7 separate regions of the Homo sapiens genome follow, and regions 1, 2, 3, 4, 6 and 7 are each linked to region 5. The links are contacts of gene promoters, found by promoter capture Hi-C in human tissues and cell types (Jung and others, 2019). All regions are on one chromosome and are shown on one strand. Each heading gives the region's core, a stretch centred on a gene start or on the middle of the fragment in contact. The rest is flanking DNA. Distances are from core to core; before and after follow the strand shown. Region 1 overlaps FBXO25 (F-box protein 25). Region 2 overlaps ERICH1 (glutamate rich 1). Region 3 overlaps ZNF596 (zinc finger protein 596). Region 4 overlaps TDRP (testis development related protein). Region 5 holds the start of CLN8 (CLN8 transmembrane ER and ERGIC protein). Region 6 has its middle 12 kb from the start of ZNF596. Region 7 has its middle 12 kb from the start of TDRP.

Region 1 (2,700 bases), core at 105-2,604, 1.4 Mb before region 5:
CAGTTTCAAGTTGATATTGAGAGATAATTTGATAATTATCAGAGATGTTCCTAGCAGCCATTTTCTGTTGAATGTGTTTTATGAGACTCAAGGTGCCACTTCAGTCATCTGCTACTTCATGGTCTTTGCTGCCTTTGGTGGGAATGTTCTTGAAAATCATAAAATCAGCTGTATGCTATTAGAGACAGTTTTAGATAACTTTAGGTCGACTGAACATGGGCATTGAGTTTTGCATTTTAGGATGTTCAGTAGTTGTGAAGCAGTTCTGTGAGACAAAGTTTATCAAAATTGTGCTGAAATTTAAGGAATAAAGTATTTTCTAAAGCAAGAATTTAAATTAATCATTATGTGACTGAAAAAGACATGTTCTGACTATAAGTCAGTTTAGCAAGGTTTGAGATTTTCTTCGTGTAAAGAATAATTACTTCATCATTTCCTACACCAGTCAAGAATTAAGCATTTGTGGTTGATCCAGGAATATTGTTGAAGTCTATGTAATTTCCTTCCTTTTTTTTCTGTATCTTCTAGGATTGTATAAGTGCCCATTTAATAGCTTGTTTTTTGTTAATTATACTAAATATAGTTGGGAGGTGGTGTTTGGAGATGTTCATCTCTCATTTATTCTCCATGATGTAAATATTCTACATTTTTCTCTACGATATAAATATTCTATATTATAAAATACTCAAGTCTGTTCGGGACGTGAAATTAAAGTAATACATTACAGAAACCACTTTTGCTTGAGTAATTCAGCTACCTTTCTGTAGCTAAATTCAACGTATATTTTCAACTCTTGCCATGCTTGGCATTTTTATAACATTTTCGTCTCTGTCGACCATTTCTTTCCTGAAATACATTTTTCTCCTGACTTCCTACTTCTCCCTCTACCTTTTTGGCTCTTCCTTTTCAGTTTTTCTTCTTGGCTTATATCTGCCGATCCCTTAAATGGTGATGTTTCTTAGGGTTTTTTTCTTGGCTCTCTTGATTTCCCTCTCGACATATTCTGTGATATTATTTGTGTGGTTTTGATTAGTGTCTGAATGCTCATGATTTTCCTCTTTCTCTCTAGTCTAACTCTCTTCTGAACCATGGATGTATATATTTATTCATTCAGTAAATAAATACTTATAGAGCTCCTGTTGTTTTCCTGGCATTGTTCAAGGTAATGGAATACGGACCTGAACAAGACATTGCATTTTCTTGGAGGAAAACAGATGATAAACACGCTAATCATTTCAGACAGCCCTTACAACTATGAAGGCACTAGATAATGGCTTAGACTGGTAGGGAGGGGGTTGAGGCAGCAGAAGGGCGCTGTTTGGACGGGGAGTCAGGGAGCCTTTCTGGGATGTGACATTTTGAATCAGCAGTGTGAGCATCTGAGGTGGTTTTTAGCCTCATGCACAGTCTCACTGTGTATGAGAATCACCTGTGGACCTTTAAAAACTACTTAAACTTAGCCTTCACCCCCAAATATTCATATTTAACTGAACTAAGATGGGACTAAGCACTTGAATGTTTAAAAAGCTTCCTGTGATGTTAATGCACAGCAGTAGTTGAAAACCACTGATCAAGAGGAGCAGAAATCAAGTCAGTGGGAAGAACTAGCATTTGAAGTCTCACTCTTATCAAATTGTGAGCGTCATGAAGTTAATCACGAAGTTGCATCATTTTTTAAGTCATAATTTTTATACCTGGAGTCTGGTATTTCAAACTGAACAGGCATGTCCTAAGCTGAAATTAATATCCCTTATCTCTCCTTTCCTAATAAAACCCTGCTGTTCCTTCTGTATGTCTTATCCCAGATCCAGGGGCTACAAAACAAAATCTAGATAACTTCCTTGATTTCCTCCTCACGTTTCCAGACAGTCTTCAAGTACTGTTTGACTCTGTTTCCTAAATATTTCTGCAGTCTCTGCTCTTCTGTTTATTTTGCCACTGTATACTCTCACCTTTTAAAGGTCAACATTCAGAAGCCTCCAGTCCCAACTACTTTCCTCCAGGTGACCCTCACCCCATACCTTCTCCCACTGTGATACTGAGTTCTTTGTAAACCACAAATCTGATTGAATCACTTACCTGCTTACTTCCCTTTTTTGGCCCCTCATTGCCCTCAGAATAGCATCCAACTCCTCTAACTTGATCCAGCCTTAAATGACTTCTCCATCCTTAATTCTGGCCCACTCTCTCTCATCTATTCTAAGCTTCAACCAAACTGAACTACTTAGAGTTGCTGAACATGAATACATTTCATTTTCGGTTGCTTCTAACTTCTGGCAAAGAGAGAATACTTGTTTGGAATAATATTCCCTATTCCACACTCCCTGACCCCTGCTTGTTTTTCAGGTATGAGCTAGAATGTCACCTCTGGTAAACCTTTCATGGGATACGCAGTATTAGGCCAGTAAAACCACGTTTACTTACCCCATTTGATCACTTTAGTACACAGTACTGTGTTATTGTCACTGTCACCAATGTCGAGCCAACGTTTAATTAATGAGCAGACATTTAAATGTTAAGAACTTTAATCTTTAAAATTAATAAATGTTCTAAGTGAAAAGAAACTTTTATGAATTATATATACTTTTTAACATAATTTAACTTTTTCATAGGAGAACTATGCCATTTTTGGGTCAGGACTGGAGATCTCCTGGATGGAGTTGGATTAAGACAGAAGATGGCTGGAAGAGATGTGAATCT
Region 2 (2,700 bases), core at 178-2,677, 1.1 Mb before region 5:
CCAGCGACTCTCATTCCTCAGTCTCCCGAGTACCTGGGACTACAGGTGTGCACCACCACGCCCAGATAATTTTTGTACTTTTAGTAGAGACAGGGTTTCACCATGTTACCCAAGGTCGTCTTGAACTCCTGACCTCAAGTGATCCTCCTGCCTCGGCCTCCTAAAGTGCTGGGATTACAGGTGAGAGCCACCGTGCCCGGCCCTGAATTACATTCCTGCCAGCAATTTATGAGTATTCATTTTCCTCAATTCTCAATGACAAGGTGGTCATTGAAAAATTACACACTTCTGAAAAACATTTTTAAAAAATTCTTTTAGAGACAGGGTCTCACTCTGTTGCACAGGTTAGAATGCAATGATGCGATCATGGCTCACTGTCTAGAGCTCCTGGGCTCAAGCAATCCTCCCTCCTTGGCCTCCTAAAGTGCTAGGATTACAGGCGTGAGTCACTGTGTTTGGCCTGAAAAGTCTTTTGTCCATTTTGCTGGAAAAAGTGCTGGAGGCAAAACCAGGGCTCACGGTGCACCTCCGTCCTCCTCAGGTAGGATGCCACGAAGTAGCATCCTATGGTTGTCTCTGTGAGTTTTTTTTTTTTTTTTTTAACCAGGGAGGCTCTCCAGGATCATCCTGCAGGGGAACTGCAAGTGCCAAGCACAACTGCTGTGCGTGCTCCAAAGTCTCGGCTCAGCTGTGGCGGGAGGCTCAGTGGAGCCCAGGAGCTCAGGGCCGTGGGTGCCAGGACCATGCCTGAAAAGAGCACCGCACTACGGCCTGCGCAACACAGGGAAACCCTGTCTCAAAAAACCCCCCAAACCCACTAAATATCAGCTCAGAAACTCCCCGTGCATTTGGCTCCATTCTACAATATGGTCACAGTTACCCTGATACGAGATGTGTAAGGCTGGTTATCATCAGGAACGAAAGAAAAAGGTATTTCCCACCTGCATGGATAACTGGCAAAATGCTACCGGGGGGAGCGCCAGCCCCACCAGAGGGCTGGACAGAAGAGTGGACGCCACCCCCGATTGCTGTCCCAGCGGCCTTCTTCTCTCCTGGTACCACGACATTTCAAGTAATTAGATCTGTATCAATGCGAGGCCACAATCACAGCAACTTCAAGTGAAATCAGTGTAAAATCCAAGGACAAGCACGAGCACAACAATGCTGCCTGGTATCTCCGCTGGGCGCCGCACCCAGACCCTCCCCACCCCTCAGGGTGACGGCGACTCACAAAAGCAGGCGTTCCAGAGAAGGAGGACGGCTTCATTTCCCTCCTATTTTCATCATATTTAAACAAGCTCCAGCATCCAAGATCTCAACACGCGCGTGAAAGCACACACAGGAGCACGTACAGACCCGCACACGTGCACAGACTCACACAGGCGCACAGACCCGCACACGTGCACAGACTCACAGGCGCACAGACACGCACACGTGCACACTCACACAGCCGCACAGACCCGCACACGCGCACAGACCCGCACACGCGCACAGATCCGCACAAGCGCACAGACCCGCACAGGCGCACAGACCCGCACACGCGCACAGACCCTCACAGGCGCACAGATCCGCACACGCGCACAGACCCGCACAGGCGCACAGGCCCGCACAGGCGCACAGACCCGCACACGCGCACAGGCCCGCACACGCGCACAGACCCGCACACGCGCACAGACCCTCACAGGCGCACAGACCCGCACACGCGCACAGACCCTCACAGGCGCACAGGCCCGCACACGCGCACAGGCCCTCACAGGCGCACAGACCCGCACACGCGCACAGACCCGCACACGCGCACACACCCTCACAGGCGCACAGACCCGCACAGGCGCACAGACCCGCACACGCGCACAGGCCCGCACAGGCCCGCACACGCGCACAGGCCGGCACAGGCGCACACACCCGCACACGCGCACAGGCCCGCACAGGCCCGCACACGCGCACAGGCCCGCACAGGCGCACAGACCCGCACAGGCCCGGACACGCGCACAGACCCGCACACGCGCACAGGCCCGCACACGCGCACAGATCCGCACACGCGCACAGGCCCGCACAGGCGCACAGGCCCGCACACGCGCACAGGCCCGCACAGGCGCACAGGCCCGCAGACGCGCACAGGCCCTCACAGGCCACAGACCCGCACAGGCGCACAGACCCGCACAGGCGCACAGGCCCGCACACGCGCACAGGCCCGCACAGGCGCACAGGCCCGCACAGGCGCACAGGCCCGCACACGCGCACAGGCCCGCACAGGCGCACAGACCCGCACACATGCACACGCCTGACAGCTCCAGTCAGTCCTCACTATCCAGCTTCCAAGCTACAACTTATCACAGCTGTTTTATGTGCAGTAAAATGTCCCACTGCCTTGTGGCTGCTCGGAAAAGGTGCTCAGCGGTGGGAGGTCCTGCCCCATCGGATGGCCTCCTCCATGCAAATGTGGTTTGCTGTCTTTCACAGACTCTTAATCAGCTATTCAGAGTCTTGGGAAAATATTCCTTTATCAGAGGCTTCCAGATGGCAGATAAGAGGAAAAACTCTCCTGAAAAATACTTAACAATGCCAGATAAAACACAGCAAACCTACCTTCAATGCACAGCCCAGCTCTCAAGACAAGGGCAATCTGGCCCAAAAATGACAGAGGAAAAGCAGCCGAGAGGAAGTGCAGGTGCCAACCACGCTGCGTGCAGCATCACGGAC
Region 3 (2,700 bases), core at 1-2,500, 1.5 Mb before region 5:
GATGGTGTGAGTGAAAACCCAGAGGAATACATTTGGTGGCTGAGCTAGTACAATGCCATCACCGGTGAGTGGGAAATTCTTCTTTCTACTGAAATTTGTACCCCTGTTACCAGCCTAAGGGCAGATTCATCCTATTAACATGGATGTTCTAAGTGCACTCAAGGATCCAAGCTCCAATTAAGATTCCCCAGGGCTTCGGAATGTTTACATTGGCTCAAAGAGTCATCAAGAAGTAATGTCCTTTCAACAGTACACTAAGGCATTCCAGCCTCTACTAAGGCTGTGTATTAAGATGTGAGAGGTTTTTGTTTCTCTCATCCAGTCTCAGGGAAATCATTCATTACGAGCCTCTCATGGCCTTGTTGGGGAAATAAATTCACTCATTACCTATGTTATTGGCAGGAGTGGGCTTGAGAGTATATGTGGGTAGGTGGTGAAAATAAGTGAGAGCAGGTTATAGCCCATACAAAGGCAAGCTCAGTTAGTCTAGTGTTTCAGGTGTTAGGGGAGGGCTGTTTAACTTGAAGGGAAAGCAGATAGGGTTAGGACAGAGGAGACAATGAGGAATTATTCATTTATTTTTCCTATCTCAAAATCTTAATGTCTTGAGAGAATAAATGTGAACTTTTGAAAAACTTAAAAAGCAAAATTAAAATTCTTATTACCCTTGTCCCCAAATTAACCTCTGATCAAATTTGATAACTGGAAGCAACTGGAGTGTTGTTTCTTTAATTTTGGTTGTGCATTAAGTGATGGAGTATAGGAAACAGAGTAAATTTAAAACTCTGAGGAAATTTTTGAAGTGGAGAGACCAGGACAATCAAAGGATTTTTTTTCCCCTAAATCTAGAGACAACATGAAGAAACAAAATAGAATAGTACCTAGTGCATTAGTCCATTTTCACACCGCTATAAAAAACTACCTGATAGTGGGTAATTTATGAAGAAAAGAAGTTTAACTGACTGACAGTTCTGCAGGCTTAACAGGAAGCATGACTGGGAGGCCTCCAGAAACTTACAATCATGGTGGAAGGGGAAGCAAGCACCTTCTTCATAAGGCAGCAGGAGAGAGACCAAATCAGGAAATGCCACACACTGTTAAATCATCAGATCTTCTGAGATATTACTAGCATGAGAACAGCAAGGGGGAAGTTCACCCCCATGATTCAATCACCTCCCACCGGACCCCTCCCCCAACATGTGGGGATTACAATTCAAGATGAGATTTGGGTGGGGACACAGAGCCAAACTATATCACCTGGTGTTTGAAGATCCCACATAAAATTGAGAAAGGAAATCCTCAGACCATGGAAAGTGGCAGGATGAGACCATCTTTCAGTACTGAAGTCTTAGAGTCCCTGGCTTGTGCTGCTGAGCCATTCATCCTTATCCATTAACAGTGAACACCTGAGTTGTGTAGACATAAGAGGCTGCATCTGCTGATACCAAGTTCTATATGAAAGTTGTTCACACAACTGAGTGTTCTCAGTCATTTCATGAATAATGTATTTGTGGCTTGTATCTAAAAAGTGATAGATAGGAACCACTTTACATACTATCTCATTGGACCTTTTTGAACTCATAACAGGTCTTTATTTTATTCTGAGGACACTGAGGTCCTATAGTGGAATATCTAACTATAGTCTTGATTAAAACGTGACAAATTATGGATGCTGCCTCCCTTGTAGTGAGTCTATAGATTTTCTTGAAGGTGGTGGAGAGGAGAATTTTAGTTCTAAATTTCCAAGTACAGATTTCATAATTAGTATCTGTAAGTTATACTTTAGAAGTCTATTGGGAAATCTTCAGGTTATATTATGCCACACCACATGTGATATTTCTCTATGTGAAGTTTTATGTATGAGTAAATCTGAAAGCCAGATTCCCAGTTCAGATTTAAAGCAATGTGACAGGAACCCCAAACACTGTTTTGAGTTTTCTGTTCATACCACCCACACTTCCTTAGTACAGTCACTTTGATCTTGCTCCACTGAACATTGGCAGAGATAGCCCTGTTTGCAGTAGAATGTCCATAATGTTTTAGGATTCCATGACCTTCGAGGATATCATTGTAGACTTCACTCAAGAAGAGTGGGCCCTGCTGGACACATCCCAGAGAAAGCTGTTTCAAGATGTGATGTTGGAGAACATCAGTCATCTGGTCTCTATTGGTGAGTCTCTTTATATTTATTATGTATGTATATACGGATTCATTCACTCACTCATTTTTCACTGATTCATTCTTTCATTCTACACGTGCTTAGAACAGCTTTCTCATCTATCACTTCAACTTCTGCTTTGATCCTTTCATAACTCTCACAATTACCTGACAGCCATTTCTTTCCTTTTCACTTATATTGATTTGTCCTCTCTCTAGAAAGTCATCTTTCTGACCACAGTTTCACATCCTTCTTGCTCTTTAATCTCCCAAACTCAGAAAAGTTATGGTAATTCACTGCTTTGGTATGCATAAATAAATGTATTGATTTCTTTAAAGTAATTATTCTATCATAGGGACTGTTCTGCACAGAACCTAGATTGTTCTGGTGGAGCTAATATTTATTGCATAGTTTTTTAATATAATGTCAAATACTATGACAATTTGTAATTTCTCACTAAGTGAAAACACTGAGGATTCTGAAATCAGTATTTGAAGTGAGGCATGGCCATCAGCAATTATAGGTCTTTTATGTCTGGGAAC
Region 4 (2,700 bases), core at 201-2,700, 1.2 Mb before region 5:
CACTAAAAACACTACTGAGGACCTGAAATAGGGCTAGTCAAACTGAGTTTTTAATTATTCAAATTTCAAGTTAAAAACATTCCATACTGGAAAACTTTTAAGTATGTTTGGAAGAACTCAGATAAAGCAACCTGTTTTTTCACCTGTACATTTTATAAACTCTAAATACTGATCAAGTATTTCTGAAGAAAACTTGGCATACAAATTGATACATATTAATATCTTGTGCTGGTAAATGTAAAATACACATAGATATGAGAGTATGAAAAAAATGTAAAGGATCTCTAACAAATTTTATATTGATTACCTATTGATGTAATATGCTGAATATATCAAATTTTAAATATTGAATTAAAACTTTTTAATGTGGCCACCAGAAAATGTTTTGCTATGTTTCAGTGGAGGAAAGCACCACTCTGTTCCACAGGCAGGAGCTCCCCAAGCATCAGTTAAGAGGAGCCAGCTGAATCCGGAGCGAATAAGCAGCGCCCAGGATCCTCCTTCCCTTCTATAATATCGTAACTGACCCTTCCTGCTTCCTCTCAAGTAATCACCCACAGAGACTTGACTCAAGTGCTTCTGCTGACTGAGTATCTGACTCAGCTCATATGAGAGTCCAATGAGACTAACCCTACAAATATCTGTTTACCCAAGAAAGAATCTGCATCAAGATCAGCTCCCCTAAGGCTGGAGAACTCCTGCTCCCCGCTCCAGACTCCAGAGTTCCCACCCTGACTCAATTCTGCAGCTCCCATCAGGTGCCGTAATGTGGAAACCCCACACCAGGTACACTCCTCTCAGGGGCACTGCTGAGCCCCACGTGGGCCTGGCTCCCTTCCTGGGCTGGCTCCCTGCCTGGTCTTGGGGATACAGCACTGAGCATTCAGCCTAGGATGAAATGGTCCTCCAGAGAGGCTTGTGATGTCCGAATGCCTGTCGCACAAGTGAGAAGTGCCTGAATGCAGCTGTCCCAGGACCCTCCTGCCTGCACCACACCCCACTGTCCACATCAACTCGGGCAATGAGCACATTCCAGAGCAAGGGATACCAGAAAACCAAATCCTAAGTCAGTAAAAAGCATTAACTATTTCTATTATTTAATAACAAGACCTCCTTTTTCTTCTTTTAGTGTGTCTGTTTGCCAGAGAAAAATATTAAGGGCTGGATATGGATGACTTCATTTACTTTTCACTTTTTCATTTCATCCCAGGGGCAGGACAGCCTGGTTTGCACACACTGGCCATGGGGACTACGAGGTTTTTAGAAGTCTTCATTGGTCTTGTAAACAAGTAAGAATTCACCGGGGTTTGAGAATTATGACTCCTTTAAAGTCGAATGCTAAATTAGCCTCCTATCAGTCTCACAACTACCTGAAACAAAAGAGGACATTTCCCAGAGGAGACGAGCCTAACTTCAGCTGTCACCTGACTCCAAGTTGCAAATCCTGCCTCCCTGTAAAGATAGGATAAATTTAGCAATTTTATCTTGAAAACATGAATACAATGGGTTTTACCTACTTGGTTATATAAAAGAGTAAGACTTCTTTCATCTTCACAATCTGTGCCTATGATGTGTCCCATCCTAGCTAAGTGCTCCTTCATAATAAAATTATTTTATTTCTCTTCCTATATTGTTAAGTTTTCTTGGTTGGGAAGAGGTTTTGTTTTTAAAACAAAATGTCTGCAACCTTTCACCACTGATAAAGAAAAAGCTTCTGCGGCATTGTTAAAACAGGGAGACTCCAATCAAGGCTATCTCAATAGAGGAGAGGTTTGGTTCAGCTCCCAACAGGCAAAGACAGCTGTGATTTGCAGCCAACCGCAAAGGAGTCTCGGGATGGGAAGTGACCAAGAGAAGACTTCATCAAGGGTGGGAGATTCTTGCTACAGGTGGGCCAAGAACTCAGACATCAAGGCCAGGGGATGAGGAACTCAATCAGACATCAAGGGTGAGGAGGTTCGCACTGCAGGGACTTCTACTGAGGCTGGGAAGGACAAAAGCGAGGTCCTGACTAAAGCTGGGTCAGATAGAGTCTGTTGGCAGCTGTGTAGCCTTCCCGGTCCCTCCTCCTTTGTGCCCATGTGTCAGATGGTGGCACCAACCCATATCAAGAATTTATGAACAGGGGCTAAGCACCGCCTCAATAAACACTAGTGATAGCTCTATTTATCCCAATTTTACAGCTAAAAAACAAAACTGATACTTGGCTAGGTCAAGTGGCTCAACAAAAGGCAGAGATAGGGTGTAGATTCAATCAAGGCTCACCAGAAACCAAGTCCAAATCTAAACTACCCAACTGTATTTTCATGCAAATACAGTTATCTTGACTACAGTTCCATACATTCAATGACATGGTAGTGGGACTGGGGGAGAAGTCTTTAGAAGTCTTCATTAGGCTTGTGAACATCTAAGAAGCTATTGAATATAAATAAGAGAAAGGCAAATTAAAATCACATTAAGATGCAACTTTTCCCCCCATCAGATCTAAAATCTTGAAGACATGCGCATCTCACCACACTGGTGAGAAACATTCGCATATGCTGCTGGTTGGAACGTAAACCAGGACCGCCTCTTTCAGAGGGCAATTTGGAGACATCCATCAAAACCACAAATGCACGCATCCTCGGACAGCTCCACTTCTAGACTTGTGAAATAACTATCCTGCAGGCCTATAATAGAAAGAGACTAGAAATATCCCCC
Region 5 (2,700 bases), core at 128-2,627:
GTTGATTTTAAAACGATGTCACCCTGGCTCTCCTAGGTTCCTGTTCCCCTAACATCATGAAGGCTGCTGGCAGTTCTCTGGCCTCCAGGGAGGCCTCCACACACATTTACCCATGTTCTTAGACAATCCTAGGGACTCAAGGCTTCAACAAACCTAAATGAGCCAGCAGAAAAATAAACTTGAACATGAATGTCAACGTTTTCCCACATGTACTAAAGGGTTATAATAATTTTGAAATGTTTATTTCAAAGAGCGTTGGTAATTTAAACGTCCTATTTAATCCCCAAAACAGTCCTGAGGGGGAGATAAGGCAGTTATCTTCATAGTACAGGAAAGGAAAAAAGCGAGGGTCCAAGGCCGACTATACCCTCAGCTCCATTAGCCCCCGAGGCCTCCCTGACAGGCGGGGCGGACAATCCCAGTGCAGATGCTCTGTATCGATCGCATGCTATCGGTTCTTTCAAGGAACGTGTATTGATCATCAATTAAGTGGTGAGTACTCCTCTAGATGTCGATTCTAAAGAGGGAACAAAACACATTAGACAGAAGAAACATAAGTAACTCGAATAACAACCTTAGAGAGAAGAAACATAAGTAACTCGAATAACAACCTTAGCAAACTGCGGAAACTCCTACAGACAAAAACTCAGGTGTGGGCGCAGAAGGGCCGGGGATGCGCTCGGTCAAGACTTGAAGGTCCGGGGCTTGGGCCCTGTGTCCTCACCGAGCCCCGGGGAGGCTCCGGCTCCGTCCACACCCGGAGCGCGACTCAGCCGCGGCCGGGGCTCTTCTGGAGAACGGCGCGGTCAGGCTCTGCCGCAGCTTTCAGGTCCCCTCGGCCCCGTCCGGGTGCAGCGCAACCAGGCTGCCCGCGGAGCCCCACCGCCCCCATGCCGCCGCCCGCCATGGTTCAGCCCGGCCCCGCCCCTCCCGCCGGCCGTGGTTCAGCGCGTCCACCCCGCCGCCCCACAGCGCCCGCCGCGCCGCGCCCCGCCCCCCGCCGCGCCCCGCCCCCCGCCGCGCCCCGCCCCCCGCCGCGCCCCGCCCCCCGCCGCGCCCCGCCCCCCGCCGCGCCCCGCCCCCCGCCGCGCCCCGCCCCCCGCCGCGCCCCGCCCCCCGCCGCGCCCCGCCCCCCGCCGCGCCCCGCCCCCCGCCGCGCCCCGCCCCCCGCCGCGCCCCGCCCCCCGCCGCGCCCCGCCCCCCGCGCCGCGCCCCGCCCCCCGCCGCGCCCCTCCCGCGCCCGCCGCCCCGCCCCTCCCGCGCCCGCCGCCGTCGTAGCGCCTAGGCGGGGCCTCTCGTAGCGACGCCCCCAGGGGGGCAGAACGCGTGCGCACGCGCGTGCGAACGCGCGTGCGCGGGCGGTGTTTGAGGCCGGCCAGTCGTGACTGGGCGGCAATGAGGTCAGTGACTGCCGGGAGTCCTGCAGGGGCGGGGCGGCGCCAAGCGCAGGGAGCCCGGCTGAGTGGCAGCCCAGGTGAGCGCTCAGGGAGCCCGGGTGAGGGCCGGGAACCCAGGTGAGGGGCAGCCCAGGTGAGCGCGCGGGGTGCCCGGGTTAGGGGCCGGGAACCCAGGTGAGGGGCAGCCCAGGTGAGCGCGCGTGGAGCCCAGGCGAGGGGGCTGGGAAGCCCGGGTGAGGGGACCGGGGATCCCAGGTGAGGGGCCGGGAACTCAGCTGAGGGGGAACCCAGATGGGCGCGCGGGAGCCCACGTGAGGGGGAGCCCGGGTGAGGGGCCGGGGTGGCTCCTGGCGTCCGCGGTCCCAGCCCTGCCTTCCGGTGGGCGTGCGGCACCCCGGGCCGTGCGGTTCCCGGACAGCAGCTTGTGGGGGACTTTCGAGCCCCGCAGCCCGGGGTCCTGCCTGCGCGGGTTGGGCGTGGGGGGCTCCTCACCGCGACGCTGACTTTGGAGTCCTTGAGCGGCGCGGATGCCGGACGGAGGGAGGGGACAGGCGGAGGCGGAGGCGGCGCCGTCGCCCCTGACCTCGCTTCCCTCAGACCGGCTGGGCAAGTACGGTCAGCTCACCTGTGTGCCCACGAGGCGGGGAGGCGGCTCCTGCAGAGCCACAGAGGTGCCGTCGGAGCTGCTGTCAAGGACAGCAGGTGTCACGTGGGTGTGGCCTCCACTGGTCACCGAGTTAGCTGGGGCGGAAGGGGACAAGGTGCAGCTCAACATGGTGTGGGAGGCGGAGGGACGCTGGGTCAGTCAGAACCTGTAGGAGCGGGGAGGGACGCTGGGTAAGGTCACCAAAGTGTGCGGGGGAGAGAGCGGGCGCTGGGTCAGGTCAGCAGGAGGTGGGACCCGCCTGGGCTCTGGGCCCTATAGCCAGCTGCTCTAGGTTGGGGTTGGGTGTGGACAGTAGGGAGGGGAGCCAGGGGCTCCCCAGCCTGTGTAGATTCTGCTGTAAGTGACTCTTCTCTGAAAGACTGGCGCGAGGCGGCTGCTTCTGACTCCTGTTTCAGTTTACCCTCTGTGTGAAATCTGTAACTATCCAGCTTCTGCTTACCTCACTCCCGTATTTTGATTTTTATTTACATACAACTTTTCAGGAAGGTTGTGAGAGGAAAGAGCAATGGTGCAGGAAGTGTGAGTGATTGAGGGAATATGAGATGGCCACAGCTCCCCACTGAGCTTGAACACTTCTGTGCCTCACTTTCAGATTGGCCGTCATGGAGGCTGTGGTTGTTAAGGAAGTTCTTCCTG
Region 6 (2,700 bases), core at 47-2,546, 1.5 Mb before region 5:
GCCTGCAGCCACGTCTCCCCAGGTCAGTCTTAAGGACAACGAAACTCTGGTCTTCACTGTGGACATGCCACACTACCAGGTGCTCCAAAGCCATGGTGACCCGTCCTCGGGTGGGTCCTGAGGAGAAAAAAGCTCTGGTTCTAATCCTAACCCTAACCCTGTCCCAAGACTTTGACCCTGAATCTAAATCCTGATCCCTACCCTGGTCCCTAATTCTGACCCTAACTTTGACCCTGACTTTGATCTTGACCCTGACCATGACCCCACCTCTAAGCATACTTCTGGCCCTGACTCTGACCCAGATCCTAATCCTATCCCTAACCCTATTATTATCTTTACAATCTATGTCTAATCTTACTGTCTAGTGCTAAATAGCTGTACCCGAAAGCACTTTTAAATTATTTAACTTCTTTTCCTTGAATTCTCTAAGGACATCCTAAAGGAGATGTCATTATGTATTTTGCATTCCCTCTGAGTGGTATGGCTTCACATATGAAGTTCTAATACTTTGCAAGACATAAAATGTTTGGAGGGTAACAGCACTGGGTTGTTAGGGATGTATGTTGGCATTCATGATAGATTTTCCTTAAAATAAGAACAAATGGCTTGAGTAGGCTTTTGGAATGTAGGATGTTTCCGTTGGTTCATTTCTGTGTTCAGTATTCCCACATGAATCTAAACATGACTCTGCTCTTAGTAGCTGTGCGACCCTGGGAAAGTCACTCAATCTCCCTCAGCTAAATTTTGTTGTGTGTGTAATGAGAAGAGAGTTGTGATTTGTATTTAGTGAATAATAACAAACAAAAGGCATTTAGCTTTCTGGAACCTGGTATGTAGTAGAACCTCATGGAAATACTAGCTCTGTTAATAAAACTAGCCCAAAACAAGGTTTCAAGGTCAACAACAGTATCAGGCAGTGAAGGACATAGACGAGAAGCTGCTTCTGCAGCCTGTAGCTCCTGGAGGCCCATTTTGTCCATGATTTAGCAGGAACGCACTACCTTTCCATGAGGAGAAACTGCCCACAGAAACCAACGCCATTCTTTGAAGACAAACATGTCTTAATAGCCTTTACATTAAGTAATAGTGTAATATAAGTAATAATTTGTTATTAGTAATAATGTGAAATTATTTACACTACCCTAACCCCTAACCCTACCCCTACCCCTACCCCTAACCCCTAACCCTTAACCCTAACCCCTAACCCTAACCCCTAACCCTAACCCCTAACCCCTAACCCCTAACCCCTAACCCTAACCCTAAACCCTAAACCCTAAACTGTAAACCCTAAACCCTGCGCACTGTGGTTCACGCCAGCAATCCCAGCCCTTTGGGAGGCTAAGGCAGGTGGATCACCTGAGTCCAGGAGTTCAAGACCAGCCAGGATGACATAGCAAAACACCATCTCTACTAATAATACAAAAACCAGCTGTGAATGGTGACACACAGCTGAAGTAGCAGCTACTAGGGAGACTGAAGCAGGAGGACTGCTTGAGCCCAGAACGTGCAGGTTACATTAAGCTGAGATCGTGCCACTACACTCCAACCTGGGCAACAGTGCAAGACCCTGTCTCAAAAAAAAAAAAAAAAAAAGACATGGTATGATGGCTCATGCCTATCATCCCAGCAATTTCGAAGGCTGAGGCAGATGGATCACTTGAGGTCAGGAGTTGGAGACCAGCCTGGCCAACATGGCTAAACCTTGTCTCTACTAAAAATACAAACATTAGGGCCAGGCACGGTGGCTCATGCCTGAAATCCCAGCTCTTCTGGAGGCCGAGGCAGGAGGATCAACTGAGGACGGGAGTTCAAGACCATCCTGACCAAGATAAACAAACCCCATCTCAAACAAAAATACAAAATTAGCCTGCTGTAATGGTGCACGTCTGTAATCCCAGCTACTCAGGAGGCTGAGGCAGGAGAGTCGCTTGAACCCAGGAAGCGGAGGTGACAATGAGCTGAGATCCTGCCACTGCACTCCCGCTTGGGCAACACAGCAAGACTCTGTCTCAAAAAAAAAGAAAGCAAAAAGACAACCCACAGAAAGGAAGAAAATATTTGCTAGCACATTATATATCTAACAACTGTCCATTAACTACAATACATACAGAATATGTATAACTCAACAACAAAAGCAACCAAATTACAAATGGCGGAAGAGTTGAACTCACACCTTGCCAAAAAGACATGCAAATAGAAAACGAGGAAATGAAAAGACGATCAATATCATTATCATTATGGCCATCAAAACTGAAACCACAACCACATACTCCTTCACACACACTAGAAAGGCTATAATCCACAAATATTAAGTAACAAGTGTTGTCAAGGTCAGAGAGAAATCACAACCATTAAATACTGTATGTGGAATATAAAATGGTACAGCCTATTTGTAACATAGTTTGGTATTTCCACAAAAAGTTAAAAACACGACAGGCAAGGTGACTCATGCCTATAATCCCAGCACTTTGGAAGGCTGAAGCAGGCAGATCACTTGAGTGCAGGAGTTCAAGACCATCCAGAGAGACATAGCAAAACCCCGTCTCTACTAAAAATACAAAAATCAGCCAGGCATGCTGCCACACACCTCTAGTCCCAGCTACTAGTGAGGCTGAGGTGGGAGGACCGCTTGAGCCCCGAATATCGAGGTTGCAGTAAGCCAAGATGGCACCACTGCACTCCAGCCTGAGGAACAGCACA
Region 7 (2,700 bases), core at 147-2,646, 1.2 Mb before region 5:
CTGATATTAAGCGTGATCAGATATTGAGAGTGGGGGGATCTGGATAAACCAACCTAGCAGAGTTCTTGCTAAAGATGTGCCCTGCAGGTGGAGACAGAAGCCCCGGGTCAGGCCTGGTGGAGGGGAGGGCTCAGGAGGCTGACTAAAGTTTGGTCCAGGAGAGAGTTGCCATCAGTCAAATGTCCTTCTTTCCTATGAACAATGTAAATCTATTACTTGTTGTGTTCCCTCTTGTTTATTAAGGACCAGCTGATTCATCTGGTGAGACTTTGTGGTAGAGGGCATTTGCAGGATGGTGTGAGCAGTCAGGCATTTAATGAAGGATGTTTCTGTGAAAATAAAAGAAAAGCCAGCAGGGCACAGTGGCTCATGCCTGTAATCCCAGCACTTTGGGAGGCCAAGGCAGGTGGATCACCTGAGGTGAGGAGTTCAAGACCAACCTGACCAAAATAGTGAAACCCTGTCTCTACTAAAAATACAAAAATTAGCTGGGCGTGGTAGTGGGCACCTGTAATACCAGCTACTCGGGAGGCTGAGGCAGGAGAATCACTTGAACCTGGGAGGTGGAGGTTGCAGTGAGCCGAGACCGCACCATTGCACTCCAGCCTGGGCAACAACGTGAGACTCTGTCCCCCACTCCAAAAAAAAAAAAAAAAAGAAAAGAAAAGCCATAACTAATGGTTAGAAACCCAGCTTCTGAATCCACACGGCAGCTAGTCAAGATTTCTAGAATTAAGCTCAAAGCATCATTCAGTGGAGGTGTGAGGACCGCAGGGGTGATCTGACAGTTTCCTGGTGTGCAGTTTAATGTTTTTGGTGATTGCAGTGGGTGTTCCAGTGAACTTTCTGAGTGGCTTATTCAGCAGTGGGCGCATGGGTTACTCAGATGTGATCTGTTGTGGGGGATTCCTTGAAGCTTCTTCAAGGAAACATCTTCAAGGAAGATTCTTCAATTCGGGAGTTGACCCAGACTTTGCCTGCAATATCTATAGATTTGGGCGAATTCTTCTCTACCAGACATCCCTAAGATATCTTAAGTTTCCTGGATCTGCCAGGAAGTGACTTTCCTTAGTCACCTGCAAGGCGGGGAGTCCTGTAATTGAGGTACCAAGATGGTTTTTCCAAGTGGACTCTGTAAGCATTGGCTCTTTGGAGTTAACCTTACTTCCCTAAAGCTGTCTGGTCACCGCAGATTCTCACATGTGACATTCCAGTAAAAGCCTTGGTAATCTATCCAATGTATCCTGTTACAAGTAAAACATAGTCTTATTGAATGCATGCAAATAACTGTGTTGCCATGAAAATAAAAATACTCAATAAGAGTTTTCCAATCCTGGAGCAATCAGGAGGGGAGAAAGAATAAATGTTTCATTTCTGTTTATAAAAGTACAATAACTTAAGAGAAAAGAGAAAGGGGTTTCTTATGTCCAGAAAAGAGAACATTAAAGGATCATCAGTGTTCCAGACAATAACTATAATCATCTTTTATCTATTCATTCGGTCCCATGTGATTAAATCTTGTTCTGTGTGACCTTGAGATAGCAGTTTCATGAACTATCACCTTCTCCACAAGAGCTCTGAAAATTCTGACTCAGCCCAGCATGGTCTTATAATGGTCAATTTTAGGTGTCAACTTGACTGGATTAAGGGATATCCAGATAGCTGGTAAAGTGTTATTTCTGGGTATGTCGGTGAGGTTTTTCTGGAAGGGACTGGCATTTGAATCAGTGGACTGAGTAAGGGAGACCTCCTCTCACCAATGTGGATGTCATCACCCAAGCCATTGAGGATCCAGATAGAGCAAAAAGGCAAAGGTAAGGCAAATTCTTTCCCTGTCTCTTTTCTGGAACTGGGACATCTTTCTTCTCCTGTCCTGAGACATCAAAACTTCAGGTTCTCTGGCCTTTGGCCTCAGACTGAGAGTTACACCACCAGCTTCTCCAGTTCTGGAACCTTCAGACTTGAGCTGAGCCATACCACTGGCTTCCCTCAGTCTCCAGCTTACGGACAGCCTGTTGTGGGACTTCTCAGCTTCCATAATTATACGAGCAATTTCCCTAAAAAAATCCCCTCTTATCCATCTCTCTCCTATTGGTTCTGTCTCTCTAGAGAATCCTGACTAATACAGGTCTCAAAGTTTTCAAACGATGCCATCACAAATCATTCTGGCCTACACCTGATTGCAAATGCTTTCAGGGAAGAATCAGAGTAACACAAAACCATCTGTGAATAACAAAATATTTTAAATGGGTATGCTTAGATATCTGATGAGAATGCATTTGACAAAAGACTTTTTTTATAACATACAACATTTAATAAAAACAATTGAAATTGTGACCGATAATATGGAACTGGATAAAGCATGGCCAGTGCAGGCACTGACAGTTGTCCATAGCTCTGCACAACTTCTGAAAGAGTTACATTAAGACGATTTACCCATATAAATACAACCTAAAGAAGGTTACACACCCTTCTTATTTAACAATGACTCTTCATGCAATTCAACATATCAAATAAACCAAATTAGGTTTTGACATTCTCCTACAAGGTTGTCTTAGTCAGTGCTGTGCTGCTATAACAGAGTACCTGGGAGGTTTAGTTCTTACACTTCTGGAGGGTGGGAAGTCCAAGGTTGAGGGCCTGCATCTCGCAGTGGTCTCTTGGCTGCATCATCCCATGGTGGAAGGTGGGGGGATATGG

Evidence for each region. Contacts are between HindIII fragments. The study calls those that stand out against the background at their distance.
Region 1: a fragment that was not itself captured here is called in contact with the fragment with the promoter of CLN8 in region 5 in 1 of the 25 tissues and cell types used here (dorsolateral prefrontal cortex).
Region 2: a fragment that was not itself captured here is called in contact with the fragment with the promoter of CLN8 in region 5 in 1 of the 25 tissues and cell types used here (lymphoblastoid cells).
Region 3: a contact is called between a fragment that was not itself captured here and the fragment with the promoter of CLN8 in region 5, in 1 of the 25 tissues and cell types used here (lymphoblastoid cells).
Region 4: a contact is called between a fragment that was not itself captured here and the fragment with the promoter of CLN8 in region 5, in 1 of the 25 tissues and cell types used here (dorsolateral prefrontal cortex).
Region 6: a contact is called between a fragment that was not itself captured here and the fragment with the promoter of CLN8 in region 5, in 1 of the 25 tissues and cell types used here (lymphoblastoid cells).
Region 7: a fragment that was not itself captured here is called in contact with the fragment with the promoter of CLN8 in region 5 in 1 of the 25 tissues and cell types used here (dorsolateral prefrontal cortex).

Annotation. Positions count from the first base shown.
Region 1 is chr8:410,461-413,160 of GRCh38, forward strand. FBXO25 (F-box protein 25) reads left to right here. Exons shown (of 10, transcript NM_183420.2): 2 at 2,613-2,700. The coding sequence starts at 2,620. Among named protein-coding and RNA genes, the nearest start is that of FBXO25, 4.9 kb to the left of the region's middle. The HindIII fragment of the contact is 3,294 bases long and covers 1-2,700 here.
Region 2 is chr8:698,317-701,016 of GRCh38, forward strand. The region is part of intron 2 of ERICH1 (glutamate rich 1); the gene reads right to left. Among named protein-coding and RNA genes, the nearest start is that of ERICH1, 32 kb to the right of the region's middle. RefSeq lists an enhancer at 1-182. The HindIII fragment of the contact is 7,633 bases long and covers 1-2,700 here.
Region 3 is chr8:240,844-243,543 of GRCh38, forward strand. It overlaps ZNF596 (zinc finger protein 596), which reads left to right. Exons shown (of 6, transcript NM_001042416.3): 2 at 1-64; 3 at 2,044-2,170. The coding sequence starts at 53. Among named protein-coding and RNA genes, the nearest start is that of ZNF596, 9.7 kb to the left of the region's middle. The HindIII fragment of the contact is 4,314 bases long and covers 1-2,700 here.
Region 4 is chr8:536,351-539,050 of GRCh38, forward strand. All of the region lies in intron 1 of TDRP (testis development related protein), which reads right to left. Among named protein-coding and RNA genes, the nearest start is that of TDRP, 7.1 kb to the right of the region's middle. RefSeq lists enhancers at 354-864, 865-1,374. The HindIII fragment of the contact is 5,767 bases long and covers 1-2,700 here.
Region 5 is chr8:1,762,412-1,765,111 of GRCh38, forward strand. CLN8 (CLN8 transmembrane ER and ERGIC protein) reads left to right here and starts at 1,378. Exons shown (of 3, transcript NM_018941.4): 1 at 1,378-1,474. It overlaps CLN8-AS1 (CLN8 antisense RNA 1), which reads right to left and starts at 2,173. Exons shown (of 2, transcript NR_134303.1): 1 at 2,023-2,173; 2 at 1-517. The HindIII fragment of the contact is 16,643 bases long and covers 1-2,700 here.
Region 6 is chr8:219,301-222,000 of GRCh38, forward strand. It overlaps the pseudogene RPL23AP53. Among named protein-coding and RNA genes, the nearest start is that of ZNF596, 12 kb to the right of the region's middle. The HindIII fragment of the contact is 5,624 bases long and covers 1-2,700 here.
Region 7 is chr8:555,656-558,355 of GRCh38, forward strand. No RefSeq gene overlaps it. Among named protein-coding and RNA genes, the nearest start is that of TDRP, 12 kb to the left of the region's middle. The HindIII fragment of the contact is 3,417 bases long and covers 1-2,700 here.